Regions from separate parts of the Homo sapiens genome. Here region 2 is linked to region 1. The links are contacts of gene promoters, found by promoter capture Hi-C in human tissues and cell types (Jung and others, 2019). All regions are on one chromosome and are shown on one strand. Each heading gives the region's core, a stretch centred on a gene start or on the middle of the fragment in contact. The rest is flanking DNA. Distances are from core to core; before and after follow the strand shown.

The links. The method cuts DNA at HindIII sites, captures the fragments that hold promoters and counts their contacts. A contact is called where the count stands out against the background at its distance.
Region 2: a contact is called between a fragment that was not itself captured here and the fragment with the promoter of NEIL3 in region 1, in 1 of the 25 tissues and cell types used here (dorsolateral prefrontal cortex).

What each region holds. Positions count from the first base shown.
Region 1 is chr4:177,306,958-177,311,302 of GRCh38, forward strand. It overlaps NEIL3 (nei like DNA glycosylase 3), which reads left to right and starts at 2,917. Exons shown (of 10, transcript NM_018248.3): 1 at 2,917-3,152. The coding sequence starts at 2,997. RefSeq lists a silencer at 2,798-2,917 and an enhancer at 2,998-3,087. The HindIII fragment of the contact is 18,461 bases long and covers 1-3,726 here.
Region 2 is chr4:176,898,098-176,902,646 of GRCh38, forward strand. No RefSeq gene overlaps it. Among named protein-coding and RNA genes, the nearest start is that of LINC02509, 25 kb to the left of the region's middle. The HindIII fragment of the contact is 5,130 bases long and covers 1-4,549 here.

The DNA of each region.
Region 1 (4,345 bases), core at 1,667-4,166:
CTGCACTCCAGCCTGGGAGACAGAGCTAGACTCTGTCTTGGAAAAAAGAAAAGGTGAGAATAATAGCATGAGCCAAAAAACAAAAGGTACAAAATATATTCTGGGAATAAGTACAATTTATCTTAATTTCGTAGAGTATTCATAGTTTTCAAAGTGCTTTCACATAAGCTATGTTGTGTATGGAAATTAGAGCAATCATATGCAGGTGTATAGAAAAAGTATTATTTATTGTCCATATGAAGAAAGTGAGTTTTGGAAAAGATAAATGACATATATATATATGGTTATCAAATAGCACAATTTAATAGATTTAGCAAATTTACTGAAATTAGTAAATTGGACTTAAGAAGAAATTGTGAAGGTTCCTCTGGTAAGAGTGCACAAGAGAAAATTCAAGGAGGATAGCAGTTAGCAGGATCCTGACATAGTCCAGCTGAAATGTAGCAAGGGTCTGCACTAGGGTAGGCTTGCTTGCAATGTTGTGGGCTCTTTTTACAGACAATGTAGATACACAGCGTATGCGAGTTTGCTTTTGATTGGACGTAAGAAGCAAGATCAAAGAGATATACCAAAGGACTCAGAGGCTAGTCACATATAAACAAAATCTGGGCCAGGTGCAGTGGCTCATGCCTGTAATCCCAGCACTTTGGGAGGCAAGGCGGGTGGATCCCTTGAAGTCAGGAGTTCAAAACCAGTCTGGCCAACATGGTGAAACCCCGTCTTTACTAAAAATACAAAAATTAGCCAGGCGTGGTGGTAGGTGCCTGTAATCCCAGCTACATCGGAGGCTGAGGCAAGAGAATTGCTTGAACCCAGGAGGTGGAGGTTGCAGTGAGCCAAGGTCAGGCCACTGCACTCCAGCCAACAAAACAAAACAAAATCTGACTCCGCCTTTCAGTCACGCCAGTGAAATCTCTTAATGCCTTCAGTGTCAGTCCCCAACTCTTACTAATTAAAGATCGTATTTGACCCAAATGTGCACAGTACACAACACCTTAAAGAGAAATGAGGTGAATCAGATAAATGAACAGGTTGATATTTTTTAAATTTGTCCACAAGCTCTTTGATATCCCTCCTTTCAAATCACAGCTTAATTCCCCTCCCCTTGTGAATGCACTGTATTTAATGACTGGCTTCTAATGAATGGAATAAGAAGTAAGTTACCATAGTAAACTAAGTAATAAAGGGTGACTAAGTAATAAAGGGCATTGCAGCTTTCTCCTTGACTTCTCTCTTGGATCACACTCTCAGCTGCCATGTCATTAGAAGAGCCGAGCTGCACTATAGAGACACAAGAGGTGAGAAACTGAGGCCTCCTGCCAACAGCCATGCAAGTGACTCATCTCGGAAGTGGATCTTTTAGCTACAAAAAGCCTTTGGGGCACTTTAGCCTTGGCTAATATTTTAACTGTAACCTCTTGAGAAATGCTGAGCCAGGATGACTCTGGCTAGCTAGACTATTGCCAAATTCCTGACCCACAGAAACTTTGAAATAACAAATGGGATAATTGATGAGGTAACAATAAATAACTAGTACAACGCTGAAAGAGGAGAAGGTATATAGGACTTTTCTCCATCAAAGGACAGAGATTATTGAATTGAACAAGGGAGTAAAGTACAAATAGTCCTGAAATTGATCCAGCCAACTTTTGATCACTAATCTCTCCCTGCAAAGGAAAGATTTAATACTTTTCAAAATTTCAATCAAGTCTTCAGTATATTCAAATTCAACTCTCTAGTATACAGATGCTCCTCAACTTACGATGGGGTTATGTCCTGATAAACCCGTTGTAAACTGAAAATACAGTAAGTCGAAAATGCCTTTAATATATCTAACCTACCAAACATCATAGCTTCACGAGGCCCTCCTTAAATGTGTTCAGAACACTTACATTAGCCTACAGTTGGGAAAAATCACCTAACACAAAGCATATTTTATAATAAAGTGTTGAATAATTTATTGACTACTGTACTGAAAATGAAAAACAGAATGGCTATATGAGTACTCAAAGTACAGTTTCTACTGTGTGTCACTTTTGCACCATCATACAGTCAAAACACTGTTACGCTGGGGCATCCTAAGTCAGCAACCACCTGTGTATATGCTCTTGTGGTTTAACGGCAGCACAGTGCTATGCTTATGAAATCACTTAGAAATTGACATTCTGTTTTAATGTGTAGTATTTCAGTTTTCAAAAAAGAATACACTTTATAATTTACAAAACTATATGGAGTCATAAACTTCATAGATTTATATGTATGCATGCATCTTTGGTTAGGGTTGTGGGTAAATTTGAAAAGCTACGCATTACCCTCAAATTTATATAAACCTCTACGTTTAACAAAGCAATTTCATATAGCTTTCATCTTGGGGCGTCCCCTTACAAAATGGATGCATGCACTTAGGTAGGGCTCACTTAACTATCTAATAATGGAGTTTTTAAATATAGACACTAGAATATATTCTGCTGTTTGTTCCAAAAACCCTCTTCTTCGTTTCTCTTATCCCACCCACGTCCGAATATAGCATGCCAAAAACAGAGCCAAAAACAAGATTGTCTGTGACATATCTGTCCTGTCACAGACAAGGACAGATTAAGAGGACCAGATCAGAAAATGTGTGTATACTAAGTAGCTCAAAGACAAGGGCAAAACTTTAACGCAAAGAAAATACATTCAGAGCTTTCCAAGTCCCAATTTCTTCTGCTTTTACAGTTCAGCCTAGTTAGTTGTCCTCCACGCCCCCCGCCCCACGCGCGTTTGCGTTTTCTTAATAAACCCACAGCAAGACCTAGGGCGGGGGTGAACCACAGCGCATGCGCCGTAGGGAGCGACCTCAACAGCTAGGGTGCTGTTTGGGCGGGGCCTGGGCGGGGCCAGACGCGCGCGAGATTTGAATTTCCTCTGCGTGCGGTCAGTGCCCGCGCAGCGTTGAGTTGCACAGCGGTATTCTCACCAGGCCCTGCAATCGGTGGGCCACAGTGCCGGCCACAGAGATGGTGGAAGGACCAGGCTGTACTCTGAATGGAGAGAAGATTCGCGCGCGGGTGCTCCCGGGCCAGGCGGTGACCGGCGTGCGGGGAAGCGCTCTGCGGAGTCTGCAGGGCCGCGCCTTGCGGCTCGCAGCCTCCACGGTTGTGGTCTCCCCGCAGGTGAGCTACTCCTGTAACAGGCCATGCAGTCAGCAGGGGGGAAATGGAATAAAGACCCCATCAGGGTTCCAGGATTTAAAGTGTCATCTCTTTGCTCTGGCCCAGGTTTCCTGGGGTCCCACCTTTCACAGAGTTTATCGTCACTTTACTGTAGGGAGAAGTCGGTCCTAGCGCGCCTGCGCAGGAGAGGAGGGCTAGCGTTCTGGGCTCACGCTGCCGGAGCAAGATGCCCTAGGGGAATCCAGTGAAGGTGTTTTATCCGAGTCACCTTACTTAACTTCTTTATGATACACACATGGTTTCCCATGTCTACAGCTGCATTTTTTACTATTGATATTATCAAATCTCTGCTACCTCTGATATGTTTTCTTCGTCCCATTTTAAGCTTTTAGCATAAAATTCTACTTTCTTGCTTGGCTAATCTGCAATTGGTAAGTATATCACAACTAGTATATAATTCTAAAACTACACGTAGAAAATTTAGCACTAACTTCTCACTCAACTTCATATTGCCATCTAATTAAGGGGCAATGAAACCCAGTTCTGGTTCCCTTAAGTGAATTTATTTCTTTTTAAAGTAAACTAGCACAGCTTCTTGCCACTCAGGCATTCATTGCAGACGATGTGGTATTCATTTGGCCAGAACTTGTACTAAAAATATTCTGATTAAGGCATCATGTTTTAAAAGCCCTCTAGATGTATGGATGATTGTATTTCATGCCTACATGCAATATTGCACTGTATTTCAATTTCTTCTGCAAAGCTTCTTATAGCCTTTGGTCCTGGAAGAAAAAGTTGCCTGCTATGAAATTAGCATATGCTTACAACTTGAAAGAAATGAGGTTCTAAGTCTAAGAAAATATATTTTCAAACTTGGGAAAAAATAAGTTTTACATCTCCTTCCAATTGCCCTTTTGTTTATTTTGACTTGATATGCCAGTAAGTACTCTGTACCTATTTTTTTTTATTATTGTTATAGTGTTTCTAAAATCGTTTCAGGGTACCACAGAGATGGATTTTAGATGGTTTCTTAAGAATATTAATATTTATGAAAATTACTCATTCAATAAAATTTTGAATACTCAAGACACCTGGGGAGCAAAAACAAATACTTCCTCTTTTGGAGCCTATACTTCAGTTGGGAAGACACAAAGACATTCATTAAATAATCACCTAAAGAAATATAAATTAAT
Region 2 (4,549 bases), core at 1,057-3,556, 410 kb before region 1:
TAAACAAAAACAGACAGAATAGCATAATAAACCCACATGTATTCTCGATCCAGTTCAACAGTTATCAACTCACAGTCAATTCTGTTTTATCTGTTCCACCAACCACTTCCCCATAACCATATTATTTGAAGCAAATCCCAGATTGTATAAGTCCATCCATAAAATGTTTACATTACCCAAAAAGATAAGAAGTCTTTACTCACACAATTATAGTGAAGTTCATTTACCTAAAATCTATAATAATTACTCATTAAATATCAGGTCAATATTCAAATTTCCAATGATCTCATGAATATCCTAATTATATGTATTTCAATATGACTGAAACAATCTCAATGTTTTGTGATGGTTCCATTTCTCTTAAATCTCCTTTAATCTATGGGTTCATCTTCTTCTTCTTCTCTCTCTCTCTCCTTTTTTTAAACCTCATACAATTTACTGTTGAAGAAGCTGGGAAGTTATTTTCTCCCAGTCTGAACATCACTTATTGTATCCCTGTGGTATATTTTAACTTGTTTCCCTGTCCTCTTATCTAAATATGTGATTACACTTAGATTTGCTTTTTCCATTTTTTGGTAAGATTTGTTTATGGGTGATAATGTGTTATTTCAACCAGAAGCCCATGATATCTGCATGTTCCTAATTTTGTGAGGTTAGCAGTAGCTATGCTTAATGTGATGATCTTTCAATAAATATCTTAATGCTGTATGGTGGGACTATTTTTATTCTATTATTTCTTCTTTATTAACTGAAATATTTATAAAAGAAGAAACTCATTTATTGATTTGGCTATTCAGTGGCACAGTGCACAGGAGAGGTTGGGTAAATGTTTGAGTCTTTACCTATATGCACCAGCTATTCAAAAGAGTGAGTCAGTTCTCTACTATCCAGAGGTGACCAGTTGGCTAAGTTATGTTAGTATCACTCACTATAGCTATTTGAATATAAACATTTAATGTATTGAACTATTTATACTCAAATTTCCCATATCAGGCTATGGGAGCCACTTCAAGATGACTGCTGAACCCGTTGGGCACAACTTTTAGACTTTCGTTATTTTCTTGATAACTGGCCTGAAAGATGGTCTAGGATTTTCTTGACCATTTCTTGACTAAGACCTGGAATCAGCCATTTTTTTTTTCAAGGATCCCTAGTTCCTTTTAATAGAAACAAATCTTAGTCTTGATATCAACTCTGGGTGATATTGAGGCTTATTGTTATGTGGTGGGTCACTGTTTCTAGACTTGTGAAATAGATGGAGCTAGGAAATATAATGTTAAGATAAAATACATCAGTAGTATATTGATACTTTGAATTAAAGACCATGACTATGGGAGTTTTGTTTAAAACCTTCTATTTTGCATTTGTTTCTTCTTTTTCCCAAACTTAGAATTCTAGTTCTCAATAATACCTGAAATAATATCCTTAACATATCACATAATTACTCATCTACTTTATTTAATTATATACATACAAACTCTAATAATAGCACCGAAACTACTTGCAAAAATTGGCTGCTGAAAGTAGGGTTTTTTTCAGTTAATAAGTTACATCCCTTTGACAATGCCTAGTCAAATTATTGTGTTTTAATATCATTTGTAGTCATTCTTCCATCAACTAAATACATATTTTATTTCTTTGCTTTATTTTATATTAGTTTTTTTAGAGATTGCTTTTTTTGAAAAAAAAGTTTATAATTATGTAAAAAATTTCCATGTAGTTCCAAAGTACAATCTACAAAACTAGATATGCTCTAGTCTAGCTTGTCACCGTGTTGTATCGACCCTATTCCTTGTCTCTTGCTTTAGCTAAACATTTTAAAAAGTTATTATTTATCCTTTCATTCTTTAAAACTTCAGATATATACACAATTATGTTCTCACATTACTTATATAAATAGCAACATTATATATCGATATCTCTATATATTCTTTTTACAATTTCATTGTCATATTTGTTCAGTCTTTTATTGTGTTTGATTCAAAAGAGAGTAACTAAAAAGAAAAATGAAAACATTTATTTGATTAAGTCAGAGGAAACAAAGAAATTTTTCCAAGTCTTTGACACTGCTTAAAGCTTTATGTATATTTAAAATGACCTTGCAAATACTAACAGAAATGACATGTGCTTCAAAAGAAGCACCATCATATCTAAGATGGTGAGAAATTAGTTATGAAATGAGTTAGAATATTCAGTGATTTGGTCAGAGTGGTTGAATTAGTTAGTGGTAGTTTTTTATTGATTGATACTTATCTATTATTTTTAAGATGTAACATTTAGTAACGAAGCTCAAATTTGGTTGCTTTAGTTCTATTTTATTGTGAGAAAGAAAAATAAACTAAAATCTTTCTCTCAGGTAAAAAATACAAATGTCATAAACTGATTGATTAAAGCCCCAAAGTTTTATTTAAGTGATAATACTCAATGTCCACAAAAGTAAGGAGAGATTAATATCCTCCATTATTGATGTTGAGATCATGAGAGTGTAAAGTAATACGGTATTTTCAGGGTCATTTAGAAACTGTTCTACCTATGTGGTGAAGGTTTGACCTAGCCATTGCACTTCTAAAATGTTATCCTAATTTTTTTTCATACAGGTGTGAAAGATAGTATATACAAGCATATTCACTTAATGTTTTGTAATAGCTACCTCCTGCCATAAAAAATAAAAAGAACTCATCTTTTACCAGAAGCATTTTTATAAATTAAGGTTTATCACACAATTAAATGCTACATAGCCATGAGAAAATGAACTATATCTACATATTCAAAGATGGCTAAGATGTATCATAGAGTGAAAAAAATCTTTAAAATCTATAGAGAGAATATAGAAAATTATACCAATTGTTAACAGGGATTAACTTTGAGAAATGGGGCTTGGAGGTGAATGTGTGTGTGTGTGTGTGTGTGTGTGTGTGTGTGTGTGTTTATGTGTATGTATTTTGGGAGAGGCACCATATTATATATAATTGTGCATGGGCTTGGAGGTGAATGTGTGCGTGTGTTTATGTGTGTGTATTTTGGGAGATGCGTCATATTATATATGATTGGGCATGGTTTGGATTTCTACATTTACATTTCCAATAGTTCTTTTAAGTATTTGAATTTTTCTTTAAGAATTGCAACTAACAGCCGGGCGCGGTGACTCACGCTTGTAATCCCAGCACTTTGGGAGGCCGAGGCGGGTGGATCACGAGGTCTGGAGACCGTGGCTAACAAGGGGAAACCCCGTCTCTACTAAAGAAAAAAAAAATTAGCCGGGCGTGCTGGCAGGCGCCTGTAGTCTCAGCTACTCGGGAGGCTGAGGCAGAATGGCGTGAACCCAGGAGGCGAAGCTTGCAATGAGCCGCCGCTGCACTCCAGCCTGGGCGACAGAGCGAGACTCCGTCTCAAAAAAAATAAAAAAGAAAGAAAAGAAAAGAATTGCAGCTACATATTATTAAAATGATTTCCATCTGGTAGCAACATGCTTGAATTGTAAAAAAAAGAAATTAAAAAGGAAATAAAACTCATCTATACTAAGAAACTAAAGTGATAAATTAAAAAGCACAGATCAAAAATCAAAGTTTTCATGCATTTAACAGCCATGCCATATAATAAAATACACTGGAGCTAATGATAGTAGAATCGAGCCCATTACAGTTCTTTGGTTTTGACAAATTTAAACAATTATCTTTCAGCACTCCTCCACGTTATCATTTTAAACTTTTAAAAATATAGAAAGTGAGAACATTAGGGAAGATAGGGGTAAGAAAATCAGGCATTTTTTTCACATCTTGTATATATATATACACATCTCTCTCTCTCTCTCTCTCTATATATATATATATCTATATAGAAAAAAATATAGAGAGGCTTGCTACCTTCAGATAAATGACTTTTTGCACTATACACACTTTTGTTAAAAAAAAAAAAAACCAAGGCAGAGCACTGTGGCTCAAGCCTGTAATCCCAGCACTTTGGGAGGCCAAGGCGGGCAGATCTCCTGAGGTCAGGAGTTTGAGATCAGCCTGGGCAACATGGTGAAACCCCGTCTCTACCAAAAATACAAAAAGTTAGCTGGGTCTGGTAGTGTGTGACTGTAGTCCCAGCTACTTGGGTGGCTGAGGCAGGAGAATCGCTTGAACCTGGGATCACCACTGCACTCCAGCCTGGGTGACAGAGCGAGACTCCCTCTCAAAAACATAAAAATAAAAATAAAAGCCTAAAAATAAAATTTCCGTCTTCATTGAAATAGACTACTAAGGAATTTTGACAATTATAATTTATTATTACTATTATTATATTTTAATTAAAATTCTTGGCATTGAATGGGCTCAGAAGGGGGTTGGTTTCCACAATTTAAGATTCCAAAGAAATTCCATATCACAATTTTGTTCAAGGAACAGTTTACATAGGTCACGTTGTGCAGTGGACTGAACCACAGGCATGCAGACAGCGCTGGTGTGAATATTTTAGGCTCCAGCAACATACTGCCTCAACTTCTAGCCCTGTTTCAGTGTTTCTCATTGGTAAAAGGAGATTTTAGTCTTATAGATGTTAGACTTCT